Regions from separate parts of the Homo sapiens genome. Here region 1 is linked to region 2. Evidence: promoter capture Hi-C in 16 types of primary human blood cells and fetal thymus (Javierre and others, 2016). All regions are on one chromosome and are shown on one strand. Each heading gives the region's core, a stretch centred on a gene start or on the middle of the fragment in contact. The rest is flanking DNA. Distances are from core to core; before and after follow the strand shown. Region 1 holds the start of BAZ2A (bromodomain adjacent to zinc finger domain 2A). Region 2 holds the start of METTL1 (methyltransferase 1, tRNA methylguanosine).

Region 1 (6,753 bases), core at 1,658-4,157, 1.1 Mb after region 2:
GCCATCTGGCTACAGAGTGGAGCCAGGCACTGTGGCAGCTGACCCCAGAGTCAGGGAGGTGCTGCAGGAACACAGGGAGGGTGAGAAAGGGGGTGCAGGTGCTAATTTGTCCCTCCCCATTCTCTTCATGACTAGTCCACTGGCCTGGCTTGAGGGAGGTTCAGCCTATTCCCTGGAGACTCTCCTTACAAGTTGCTGATAAAATGACCATTTGCCCCTTCCCCTTTCTAGTAGCTTCCTGAAGGGAAATGGGTGGGGAAAAGAGAGGTGGGTGGGTGATCAGCCACATCTGATGGGATTGAGGAGTGTTTCGGGACATTTGGGGTCAGTCTGCCCTCTCTCGTCTGGATGGGGGGAGAAGCACAGCTGCAGCATGGGGTGACTTCTAGCAAGAAGTAAACATCCAGCTGTTGGGCACACTGTCACCCCAACCTCATCCTTCCTCAGAGCAAGGAAGATCCTGATTAGATGAGATGAGGTGGGGTCTCATTCAGGAATGAGGATGATTGTAGTCTTTCTGCACCAGATGGGAAGAATGGATCCTACCTCATTTTCTTTTCTAATCCCAAGTGGTCCTCTCCTATCCAACACCCCTCTTCCTAACCGCTCCTGGCTGGAATAGTCCTAAAGGTTGCCCTGGAGACTAGGCCTGGGGCTCGGAAGGGGTGGGGGCGGTCAGTGGGGCACAGGAGTAACCGGCTCTTCCGGAGCAGAGTGGAGCCAGTGGTGGGTGTGTGTGGGTGTGGGGAGGGGCGTGGCTACACCCGTCTGACGGGCGCAGGCTCCTCCCCTGCCTGCCCAGTCCCCGACTGGCCCCCTTTAAGATTGGGAGCAGGAGGTAGGAAGATTCTCCCTCATCTGCTCTGGAAAAGGGCAGGGAAGACAAAAGGATACCAGCTTCCTTACCCACACCCCCATCCCGCCGCCCTTGAGGCCTCAGTTTTATGCCTTTCTTCACCTGCCTTAATTTTTTATTTGGGGATAGAGAGGCATTTCTTAGCAGAAGTTTGCCAGAGCCCTCCTTTCTCCAGAAGGAAGGAAACCTCTACCCTGAGTGTGACCTCTACTTACTCAGGGACTTGAGGTCAGCAGGCTGTTGGAGGAGTATTTTTTTTTCCCCAAGGTGACCTGTAAATCTGTTGTTTTGACAGGGAGGAGAGAAGGGTTTTGGTTTCCACCTGCCTATTCCCTCCACTGGTAATCTACTTATCTCGAGAGAGGAAGAGAAACCCCCTTAGCCTTCTGTGTCTGTGGCCCACACACTCTGTGAGCCTTTGCTAAAGCTAGCTTCCTTCTTATCCTCTCTGAGCCATTTGTAGTGGGGGGGTGGAGGGGTGGAGTCTTTCCCCAAAATTCAGGAAGAGCCCACCCCTCTGTGGAGTAAGGAAATCCAATGTAGACTGATGGATCTCACCCCCCAACTCTGCCCATTTTTCAGATCTCTTTCCTCCTCAGACCCCCAGAGGAAAACGTATTTGTTGACACCCCAACTTGCCAGAGTTTCATCATCCCCACTCTGTTGCTTTTCCAGAATATTCAGCAGCCTGAGCTTTGCACAGTTTAGGCAACTGTTTCTAGAACTGCATTGCATTGAATTAAATGGGAATTATCTTCAAGGCTGCAAAGTGTTGAGTTGCAAGGAAAGGAAACCTGGTTTCCTTTCTTGTCATATTTTATCCACTGTTTGACATTGAAGAAGTCATTGAACCTCTTTGGGTCTTAATTTCTTCATTTGATGAAGGAGAGAAGGTTGAACTAGAATTTTTTTTTTTTTTTTTTTTTGAGATAGAGTCTCCCTCTGTCACCCAGGCTGGAGTGCAATGGCGCGATCTCAGTTCACTGCAACCTCCACCTCCCAGGTTCAAGCGATTCTCTTGCCTCGGCCTCCTGAGTAGCTGAGATTACAGGGGCACGCCACCACACCCAGCTAATTTTTGTATTTTTAGTAGAGACCGGGTTTCATCATGTTGGTCAGGCTGGTCTTGAACTCCTGACATCATGATCCACCTGCCTCGGCCTCCCAAAGTGCTGGGATTACAGCCGTGAGCCACCGCGTCCGGCCTGAACTAGAAATTCTCTAAGCTCTAACATCATATGACACTGTTCTTCATCCTGGTGCCCTGCAGTGGACATTTTAGGTGACAGCCAAACTCTAGTCCTCTGCTAGATTTTACTTTTCTGAGTTTTCACACAGTTATGTAGCCCTGTCAGAAAAAAATTCCCAGAACCATAGAATGGGTGGACATTTGTGGCATCTTTTTGCTGATTAGTTTTCAGCTTATCCTTTACTTCTCTGACTGCATTTAGGCTACACTCAGGTCTTTGCTGTCTGGTTCCAGAGCCGAACCTTCTTTCCCCCACGCACAGGAATCTTTCCTTTCCGGTGACCAGGGCCCTGCAGATGTCGCCAGGAAAGTGGTGATCCAGGCAGGACCAGGCTGCACTGAAGGGACAGAGGTGAGTGGGTGGCTGACTCTTGCCTCTCCCCATCCCTTTACTGAATCGCGACCTGAGTGACTAACCTTTCTATTTCCACGTTTCCATTACCCTACCTGGGAAATAACTGCCCCCGAAATTCCCCTGACTCTTACCCCTACCAGCCTGTTAGAGAAGTGGCACCTGCCTTTGGGCCTAGACGTTTGGTCTAGTCTTTTAAGTTAACCTTGGGACTGTGGCATGCCTTTCAGTTTGCCCTGTGTGAAGCAGGACCACTGCCTCCATGAGATGCGGGTGCAGAGGGAGCTGCCAGGTGGGCAAGGTGGCCAGAGTTGCAGGAGGCACAGCGGCGCTAGGACCCAGGTCCGGGTCGGAAAGATGGGCTGGCGGGCTTTAGGACCCTGTGGCGGAGGCCGCGTGGGGAGACTCTCTCCCGGCCGAGGCTTCTCCGCCCCCTCCGGCTCCGACTCACTCCTCCCCCGCCGGCCATGTTGGCTCCTCTCGGGCCCCGCGGTTGAGCCGCGTCCCCCTCCCCCTTCCCGAACCCCGGACCCCAGACCCCCTCCCCAGCGGGCGTCTCCACCCGTTCTGGCGCCCGGAGCGCGGCCATGTGAACCGCTTGTACCCCGGGGAGAGACGAGCCCCGAGCCCGGCTGGACGCCGCTGCCTCAGGTTTGTGGGGTCTGTGGCCAGGGGCCTGAGGGGGAGGGAGCCCCGCTTTCATCCGAGGCTTCCCTCGGGGAACAGAAGCTCCAGAGCCGGCTTGAGCCTTGCCGGGGCGGGAAGCCGACGGGAGCTTATTTCCTGCGAGGATCCAACCCGAGGCGAGGGTCTCCTTGCTCTGGGGTCTGGGAGGAGAACAGGGCTGGTGGGGCTGCTGAGGACCCCGGACGGGGCCGCGGGGGCAGGAGGAGCTGTAGGGGCTCCCGGCGACAGTGAGGAGGCGGAGAAGCCGCCTGGCTGGTGGAGATGACTCCTGTGGGGGACTTGGGGTGGAATCCCCGGGAGGGGCTCCACCTCCTCGGGTGGGGGTGGGGATTGCCTGAGCGCGAGGGGTGGGTGAGGGGGTTCCCTTGGCGGGTTAAAACGCTCCGTTTGCGGGGAGCTGGGCGTTTTGACTGTGGTGAGTGGAGGGCGGAAGGGGTTTCCAGGGGTCTGAGGGTGTCTCCCTCGGGGAGCGCACCCATTCTCTTGAGCGTGAAGATCAGGAGAGGGCCTTCCTTGCTGAGGGTGGTGCTGCGCTTGGCTTGGGGCCCTCGCGTCCCGGGAGAATCGCGCACTCCGGGGATGGAGGTTGATAGGGCTTCCGCTGAGGCTTTCCAATTTGAGCTGGGCTGAGGGGCAGAAGGGAAGAATAAAGAGGAATTCCTTTTTCCAAGGAGATTCCTCACTGAGGGGATCCCCGCTTCCGTGGCAGAAAGATGATACCGCATCATCCCTTTCTTTCCCGGTGTTCCCAGTTTTCAGGAGAAGGCAATGTCAATAGCAGTTGTCCTTTGTAGGGTTAATTGGAGTGAGAGATTTGTCTGCTTTGGGGGACGACGGAGGGGATAGCTTTCCACCTCTATCTGTACACAAACAGCCCCTCCCCCAGCCTCCCGCAGGAAGTGGCCGGGAAATGGCAGCTGTGCGTTTGCTGCTGCGTGTCTTGTTGTTTTGAAATGTCCATTTTAATCAGATTTGGTTTCATTTTCTGAAGCCTTCTGGGCAAGCTTGGATCTTGCCAACCATGTGGCCCGAGAGACCTTTCGTTGGACTTTTTTTTTTTTTGTAAACTTGTCAACTGGAAGTAGTCAACTTCAGTTGACTCACGTATCCCAATCCCTTCTCCAGAACATCTCTGTCTTCCTGTCTGGTTTCGTTTTGTTTTCCCTTTAGCTAGAGGTCATAGAGAAGCAAACTCAGTTATCTACCAGCGGGGTACGCTCTATGTAAGTGATGCAAATTCCCTCAGCATAGAGAGCTGTCAGGGAGACTAGAGAGCTTTTGTGGCACGAGTAGCTTCTTGGGGTCCTACTTTAGTATAGTTATTATGACAGTTTCTATATTGCAGAGCACCTGAGCAAGTGAGCTTGTGAAGAAGGGTAGATTCTAAGAAATGGACGAAGAGGAAGGGGTGAGGAAGATTTAACTATTAGATGGATTTGTGTGTCGGGGGTAGGGACTGATTAACAGACTGAGATTGGTGAACTCAGTCCTTGGTGGTGATTCTAGCCTAAGGGCAGCCCCTGTGGGAAGCTTGTTATTTGACTAAGGGGTGCTGGAGATACTACCTTCTGCAGAATCAACTAATTAGAATAGTACAGTTTGTTATCATATGACTTACTCTTTAATCCATAAAAGAACGTCTCCCCTCTTATTCTTCTTGGAGATTGGTAAGCTTTTCCTCTGTTCCCTGCAAAGTCGTGCCCAGATTTTTTTTTTCTTTCTTTTCACTTGATAATCCCAGGATATTTCTCCTGTAACATATAGTGATGGACTGTGTGCTATGTCCCCAGGCATTTTGTGGCACACTGGATTTGGTTAGGGGCAACAGTTGGCCACAGAATTTTATTTTTCTTTCTTTTCTTTTTCTTTTCTTTTTTTTTCTTTCTGTCTTTTTTTTTTTTTTTTTTTTTTGAGACGGAGTTTTGCTTTTGTCGCCCAGGCTGGAGTGGTGTGATCTTGTCTCACTGCAACCTCTGCCTCCCGGGTTCAAGCGAGTTGCCTGTCTCAGCCTCCCGAGTAGCTGGGATTACAGGAGCCCGCCACCGCATCCAGCTAATTATTTTATTTTTAGTAGAGACGGCGTTTCATCATGTTGGCCAGGCTGGTCTCGAATTCCTGACCTCAGGTGATCTACCCACCTCGGCCTCCCAAAGTGCAGGGATTACAGGTGTGAGCCACCATGCCTGGTCTTCTCTTCTTTTCTTTTTTTTCTCTTCTCTCTCTCTTTTCTTTTCTCTTTCTTTCTTTCTTTTTTTTTTTTTTTGAGACAGGGTCTCACTCCGATGCCCAGGCTGGAGTGCAGTGGCGCCATCATAGCTCACTGCAGCCCCGACCTCTTTGGCTCAAGTGATCCTCCCACCTCAGCCCCCTGAGTAGCTGGGACCACAGACACGCACCACCACATCCAGCTAATTTTTTGTAATTTTTGTAGAGGTGGGGTTTTGCCAGTTTGCACAGGCTGGTCTTGAACTCCTGGGCTCAAGTGACCTGCCTGCCTTAGCCTCCCAAAGTACTGAGATTACAGGCATGAGCCACCATGCCCGGCCTATGACCCCAGGACCACAGGATTTTAGATTTTGAAAGATAAAGTTTTGTTTTTTTCTTTTTCTTTTTTTTTTTTTTTGAGATGGAGTCTCGCTCTGTTGCCCAGGCTGGAGTACGGTGGCACCATCTGGACTCACTGCAACCCTCGCCTCCCAGGTTCAAGCGATCCTCCTGCCTCAGCCCTCCAGTAGCTGGAATTACAGGCATGCGCCACCATGCCTGGCTAATTTTTGTATTTTTAGTAGAGAAGGGGTTTCACCATGTTGGTCAGGCTGGTCTCGAACTCGAATTGAGCCTCCCAAAGTGCTGGGGTTACAGGCATAAGCCACAGGGCCAAGCCTTGAAAGATAACATTTTCAGATTATTTGGACTATTCTGAAAACTACGTAAGCCTGTCATTTAAATCATCTTTTCACTATTTATTTTCCAGGCAAAAACCCCTCCCACCTAGATGAAGATCCCTAGATTAAAGATCCAGTATGGGAGCAGATAGACACTTATGATTGTGTGAAAGTGGCATCATCACTAGTAAGATAGCAGCATCATTGCTCTTCTCACTGGGGCTGTTGGGGTTTTTGATATTCTGGAAACAGTAAAAACAAGTCCATCTGATGTCAGCATCCTTTTTCTTGCCCCTGATTAGTTCCTTTAAGTTGCTGTCTGATGGGGTTGATTTGATGCTGATTTTAAGTTCCCCTTTCTTCAGCCTTTGCTTACCTGAATTGGCACTTGACAGAACAGCAAGTTGATTTTCCCTGTTGGGGGTTAAAAGAGTAAAGAAAGGAGAGATAACTACTCTTGAGTCTTTGGACTTTTAAAAGAAAAGCTGATTTTGAGAAAATAGTGATTTCATTTGATACATGATTGAATTGGGAGCTGAATGAAGCAAACCTTTCATGGCCTTCTTATAAAATGGGTGCATTTTTCTGTCAGAGAAATATATTTCTTAATATTTCAAGCTTCTCGATGAAAGAAAAAATCTGAGGTGTAAAGAGAGCTGTATGGGCTGACCCCAGAGCCAGTCTAGAATGAAGGGTTCATCTTGTAGTCTTGCGGCTCTGGAAT
Region 2 (6,475 bases), core at 14-2,513:
TTATTTCCTGCCCTCCCCAATCACCCACCCTAGGTGCTTTGACAGGCAATTCGCGCTGTCTGGCACGCAGAAGCAGACGCCAAAATAAAAACAAAAACAAATTTTAAAAAAAAATTTGTTAAAAAGAAGGGGTTAGACTGGGCCCAAAGTTCTCCCCTCTCCCCCAAAGATCCACGAAGTGACCATTTCTCCGCGCCCCTGGGTCCCCACTCTCTCCCGTAAAAAGCCAGCTCACGCACCCTGCAGCGCTGCCAAGATCCCCACGATGCCTGTCCCCGCACCCAGTTCGATCACCTTCTTGCCTCGGAAATCCACATTTTGACTCTCGAAATAATTGCACAGGCTCAGGGCCTACGGGAGAAAAGACAGAGAAAAAGACAGTCGTGAGGATGGCTCCATATGGGAGAGGCGGAGTCCGGGATCTGGACCTCCCACGGACCCTCACCCGGCGCAGCCCATTCCTCACCGCGTCCCACACGCGCGCCGCCACCCCGAGGCGGGACCCAAAGTTCTGCGTGATGGTCAGCACATGCCCACAGAAACAGAACTGGCTCTTCTCCGAGTAAGAGTCTGCAAAGAGCCCGACCTCCCGCGGGAACACCGATTCCGACTCAGATTCGGGATCTGGGCCGGGGTCCGCCATCCGGCCCGCCAAGGGAGTGCCTGGGCACCGCGGCCGGCGCTCAGATCCCGGATCCGGAGCGGGGTAGAGGCTGGGGGCCGCGAGCCGTCGTGGTGTCCCTGTGGAACGAGCCCCGCCTCCCTGAGTTTGCCCTCCTTCCTCCAGTTCGATTTCCTGGAGGTGGAATGAGGAGCTGCCCCTCCCGCCCCGGCCCCGAGCGCACACTCGACGAAACCCACACGGGACCACAAGAGTCAGACCGGGCGGACTGGTCCGAGACCAGGAGTAAGGGGACAGGAGCGAGGACTGATGCCACTGTAGAAGGCGAGGTCTCTAGACCCCTCTCACCTGTGGGGTGCACAGGTGCCTGCAACCAGGATGGTAACCCAGACCAGGCAGAAGCAAGCTAAGAGAAAACGTTGGGTCCCTGGGCCTGGCCTCGCCCTCCCAGTTGGAGGCTAACGGTGCGGAGGTTCCCTCCAGCACTCGCTCCTTACAGCCCTCCCCACCTAGCCCAGCCCAGCCCAGCCCAGCCCAGCTGAATTTGCTCTTGGGTCTTTAAGGGGCGGGAACTGCCACCAACGCGCATGGCTGCGTCATTAACTTGCGCCTCTGGCCTGCGCCTCCACGTGGATTTGGTAGAGAAACCCCGGACTGGGATCATGGCAGCCGAGACTCGGAACGTGGCCGGAGCAGAGGCCCCACCGCCCCAGAAGCGCTACTACCGGCAACGTGCTCACTCCAACCCCATGGCGGACCACACGCTGCGCTAGTGAGGAGTGGGCAGAGGGAGAGAGAGGAGGGCGGGATTCTCAAAGCAGCCGGGAGAGCAGTTGTGCTGCAACTGCTGGGAGGATTTGGGGTAGACCCGGGAGGATCAGATGGGTGACGTCAGTTTTTGGGGGTGGGACCGGGAGATTCGACCGAGAGAGGAGTTGGCGGGTTGAGAGTGGGCGTGGCGTTCGGGCCTAAGTCTGGGTAGCGGTGCTAAGTTTGGGAAGAGAAATAAATTGTTACTGAGACTGAAGTGATAGAGGCAGAATGTCGTTTCCATCTTTTGCTTTTGTTTGTTGGATTTAATAAAAAGGCAAACATATACACAATCCTGCCCGCACCTTACCTTACCTTCCCTCCCCGCAGAGCACAAACACAAAGTAGGATCCCAGTGCATTAGGCAGCCAGTCTCGGGAGAAGGGGAACTTGTGCCCCAGAAAGGGCAGTTACCCGGCCAGGGTCACATCAACCGCCAGAAGTGGAGTTGGGCAGGTCAGCGTTTATGGGCCTCATGATGGTCCTATGATTCACACTGGGAGTTAAGGGTGGTTTCCATTGTCCCTCTTAGAGGCCACAGGGCCCAGTGTTACAGAATTTTTGAGAAACCCTCCTCCCTTTTACCTCCCACCCTCACCCACCCACACACTCTCACAGTACCACTTCTGCAATGGTGTGACCAACCTTCTCATGCTTCTTATGTCTTCTTTCCAATAGCCCTGTGAAGCCAGAGGAGATGGACTGGTCTGAGCTATACCCAGAGTTCTTCGCTCCACTCACTCAAAATCAGAGCCACGATGACCCAAAGGATAAGAAAGAAAAGAGAGCTCAGGCCCAAGTGGAGTTTGCAGACATAGGCTGTGGCTATGGTGGCCTGTTAGGTAACACTCAGGCCCTCTTTTTGGGGTGAGAAGAGGCCTAGTAGCTTCTGCTGCCTCAGCAACTTTTGTGGGGGGTCATAATTGGCCTTTCCCCTTTCGTCCAGACACTGGTGACATCAGCATGGAGAGGCTCCACCTACCCTCTACTCTGGGTCTGTGACCTTTGCCCTGGAGAGTGGAGGGGGCTGCCTCAAATGCTTCTTAAAACCTGGGTTGTCCTTTCTGGCGTCAATCCCTACATGAGCCATTTCATCTGCCAGGTTCCGGGTCAGTGAGCTGGTCAGCACAAGCATCAGAGATTAGCCGTTGTGGCCAGTGATCCTGAACTGTCTTTTCTCAGAGATTCTACCATCTCCCCTCCCCTTTGCCCCTCCCTCGCCAGATCTCATTCCTTCTGCCCCACTCTCCTGTTTTTTGGGTTCCTCTTGTATTGTCTGTATTGTCCCACCCATGCATGCCAAGCCACTCCCTATTTTTAGATCTTCCCAAACAGATAACAGCCTGATAGAGAAGAAGAGCATGGTACATAGAGGCAGAAAACCTTGGTTTAAGGTCCAGTTCTGCCTGGGCACAGTGGCTCACACCTGTAATCCCAACACTTTGGGAGGCTGAGGCAGGTGGACCACTTGAGGCCAGGAGTTCAAGACCAGCTACTCAGGAGGCTGAGGCAGGAGAATTACTTGAACCTGGGAGGCAGAGATTGCAGTGAGCCAAGATTGTGCCACTGCACTCCAGCCTGGGTGACAGAGCAAGACTCCATCTCAAATAAATAAGTTCCAGTTCTGCCCCTTCTTAACTCTATGATCTTCGGCATATCTGACCCTCAGTTTCCTTATCTTCACAATTTACCACAGAGTGTTATAAGGATGAAATAACACAATGTGTGAAAACACTGTGGAAAACTCTAAAGCAATGGCAAATATACATGTATCCTCAGCCCTCCCATTCTGGTCCTGGTGACAATTTTCATTTCTCCCCCCGCCTCTTGAGCATAAAACTATCCATATATGTATCTCTGTCCTCTCTTGCCGTTCTGGACTTTGGTAGTTGCAGGTTGAGGCTTCCTTTCCTGTGTTGACCCCTTTGCACTTCCTACAAGTATATGGTTGATGATTCCATTGCTATTTCTGTGTGCAGTGGAACTGTCACCGCTGTTCCCAGACACACTTATTCTGGGTCTGGAGATCCGGGTGAAGGTCTCAGACTATGTACAAGACCGGATTCGGGCCCTACGCGCAGCTCCTGCAGGTGGCTTCCAGAACATCGCCTGTCTCCGTAGCAATGCCATGAAGCACCTTCCTAACTTCTTCTACAAGGGCCAGGTGGGGAGGGGCCCTGGTGGGTTAGGCTGGTAGGCAGGTGGGGGCATGGAGGCCAGGCTCTCACAACCCTGTTGGTGTGTGTCTGTCTCACAGCTGACAAAGATGTTCTTCCTCTTCCCCGACCCACATTTCAAGCGGACAAAGCACAAGTGGCGAATCATCAGTCCCACCCTGCTAGCAGAATATGCCTACGTGCTAAGAGTTGGGGTGAGTTGGGATCGGAGGGATGATGGGGTGAGTGGCCTACTCAGGGGCCCTTCACTAAGAATTCAGTGGGGGTGCATTTAGGGACTCACACCACCACTTCCTTCATCTGGCTGCTGACGTTGCATGCAGCCTCCTGTCTAGGGTGATTTTGCCTATGCAGGGGCTGGTGTATACCATAACCGATGTGCTGGAGCTACACGACTGGATGTGCACTCATTTCGAAGAGCACCCACTGTTTGAGCGTGTGCCTCTGGAGGACCTGGTGAGTAGGGGACCTAGAGGAGGTGGAGGCCCTTTCCAGAGTGGTTCTGTATTTGGACTTAACTCAGTGCCAGGAGGATGGGATAGGTGTCTAAGGGCCAGGGGCAGTCTGAACAGTGGGCAAGGACTTATTGGACCCTTCCTTCTCCCAGAGTGAAGACCCCGTTGTGGGACATCTAGGCACCTCAACTGAGGAGGGGAAGAAAGTTCTACGTAATGGAGGGAAGAATTTCCCAGCCATCTTCCGAAGAATACAAGATCCCGTCCTCCAGGCAGTGACCTCCCAAACCAGCCTGCCTGGTCACTGACTGCTTACTCTACCTTAGCTGGACCTCGTCTCCCAGGGATTAGAGAAAAGAGCAGGAGTCCTGGGTCTTCCCAGTTGAGACTGCTGGAGCTGAGACACAGTACTCTCTTAAAGAAGGTGGGGAGCTGCCCAGGGCAGAACCCACTGGTGTTCATGACTACCCCTGGCTCCTCTCACCTTGTCCCTCCACTGCCAACAGAAAACAAAGCAGCTGACTGAGATGGTCAAAGGACTTTGGACCATAGGGGATCTTTGGAAGGCTGTGGGGTCTTGCTCTTCCTTAGCACTCCTTTCTCCTTGTGAGATCTCTCCTCAGCTGGAATGAGGAATGTAGTCCATCTAAACTGCTTGCTAGGCTCAATTACCACTTCTGTTTGCTTTGTGGATCCTGGGATAACATGTATATGTGTACACATGCCTATTCTGCCATTTCTCAGGAAAGGGTGGAGTATGTATCATATGCCTTCTACCATCCTCCTGTCCTCTCCCTGCGTAAGACTTGACCTGGGGAATCTGTGTTCCCTAAGTGTTGTCTCTGGAGAGTCCTTGGGAAGGTGTGGGGGTGGAGACCCTCTCCTTTTTCACATTGACCTTCAATTCCAGAACTTCAGAGCTAGCTGACTGGCACAGAGCCTGATAGAGTTGCAGTGGGGAATGAGGGAGTAAGGAGCAGAGAGGTAAACTGTGGGAGATTCTTTTATTTTAATTTTTTTTAGAGACAGGCCCTCTCTCTGTTGCCTAGGCTGGAGTGCAGTGGTACAATCATAACTCACTGCAGCCTTGACCTCCCGGGCTCATGTAATCCACCTCAGCCTCTCAAGGCACTACAGGCATACGCCACCATGCCTGGCTAATTTTTGTATTTTTTGTAGAGACAGTTCCACTATGTTGCCCAGGCTGGTCTCAGACTCCTGAGCTCAAGCAGTCTGCCCACCTTAGCCTCCCAAAGTGTTGGGATTACAGTCATGAGCTGCCGTGCCCAGCCTAATTTTTAAACTTCTTCTGTAGAGACAGTCTTGCTATGTTGCTCAAGCTTGTCTCAACCTCCTGGCCTCATGCCATCCTCCTGCCTCAGCCTCCCAAAGTGCTGGGATTATAGGCATGAGCCACCACAGGATTCTGAGGCTAAAAGTAGAAAGGAGCTGCTAACCAGAAAGCCCCCCAGAGGAGACCGAGTCAGCTGGGGAATTAGAACATCCACATCCATTTAGCTCCTCTAACACCCCACAGACAATCTCTGAACTTAACTAATGTACAAAAAGTTTCATTTCTGCTTCTCAAGCCCCAAATTCCCATGTCTGGAAGGAGGGGGCTTGTATACCCAAGAGACCCCCTTATCCTCAAGAAAGAAAGATGGAGGTTCTAGGAGCCATTTTAGCCCATTAACCCACCTGCCATCTGCCCAGTATATGTTAGGTACAGGAGGAGGGGGAGGTGTGGCTAGTGCAGGAAAATAATGCAGAGAAGATACAACCCACTAAGCCAAGAATGTGGGGACAGTTACAGCTGTGCCTCCCCTGCTTCCCTTCCTGGAGGAGCTGAAAGATGGGGAATTCCTGAGGATGGGCCTAAAGGGGCTGGGCTCACTGGTAGAAGTGGGAATATCAGAGACTGACTAGTGTAGCTTGGTCACCTAGTCCCTACTAAAAAGCCTTATAGCCTTTCCTAGGATGAGACTTTGAGGCTCCTAGACAAAGGCACTCTCCCAGGAGGAAAATCTTAGGCCCTCCCTCCCATGAGGGTCATTGCAACATGAGACCCAAGGGAGTTGTGAAGTCAGCCCCAGCCCCGCCTACTGTTCCTGGGTGCTAATCCCCAGCACAGACCACTCAGGAGGAGGGATTGGCTGAGGAGCTTGGAGAGGGGGCGTCATCACCTCACCCAAAGGTTAAATAGGGGTTGAGATATGATGCTCAGGAGAAGCGCTTTCTTTCGCGAGCACCCTGAACCAGACCATGACCCAGACCCTCAAGTACGCCTCCAGAGTGTTCCATCGCGTCCGCTGGGCGCCCGAGTTGGGCGCCTCCCTAGGCTACCGAGAGTACCACTCAGCACGCCGGAGCTTGGCAGACATCCCAGGCCCCTCTACGCCCAGCTTTCTGGC

The links. The method cuts DNA at HindIII sites, captures the fragments that hold promoters and counts their contacts. A CHiCAGO score of 5 or more calls a contact.
Region 1: the fragment with the promoter of BAZ2A here is called in contact with the fragment with the promoter of METTL1 in region 2 in 2 of 17 cell types (monocytes and naive CD4 T cells); the score reaches 6.8 in monocytes.

Annotation. Positions count from the first base shown.
Region 1 is chr12:56,626,480-56,633,232 of GRCh38, reverse strand. It overlaps BAZ2A (bromodomain adjacent to zinc finger domain 2A), which reads left to right and starts at 2,907. Exons shown (of 29, transcript NM_001300905.2): 1 at 2,907-3,108. RefSeq lists enhancers at 2-51, 2,601-2,670, 2,701-2,750, 5,529-6,030 and a silencer at 2,971-3,320. The HindIII fragment of the contact is 7,835 bases long and covers 1-4,150 here.
Region 2 is chr12:57,766,893-57,773,367 of GRCh38, reverse strand. METTL1 (methyltransferase 1, tRNA methylguanosine) reads left to right here and starts at 1,263. Exons shown (of 6, transcript NM_005371.6): 1 at 1,263-1,394; 2 at 2,111-2,274; 3 at 3,412-3,596; 4 at 3,690-3,803; 5 at 3,964-4,065; 6 at 4,217-4,897. The coding sequence starts at 1,285. The coding sequence ends at 4,372. EEF1AKMT3 (EEF1A lysine methyltransferase 3) reads right to left here and starts at 754. Exons shown (of 3, transcript NM_015433.3): 1 at 467-754; 2 at 240-351. The coding sequence starts at 643. CYP27B1 (cytochrome P450 family 27 subfamily B member 1) reads left to right here and starts at 6,290. Exons shown (of 9, transcript NM_000785.4): 1 at 6,290-6,475. The coding sequence starts at 6,327. RefSeq lists enhancers at 590-1,099, 1,230-1,519, 1,205-2,404. The HindIII fragment of the contact is 5,954 bases long and covers 1-5,406 here.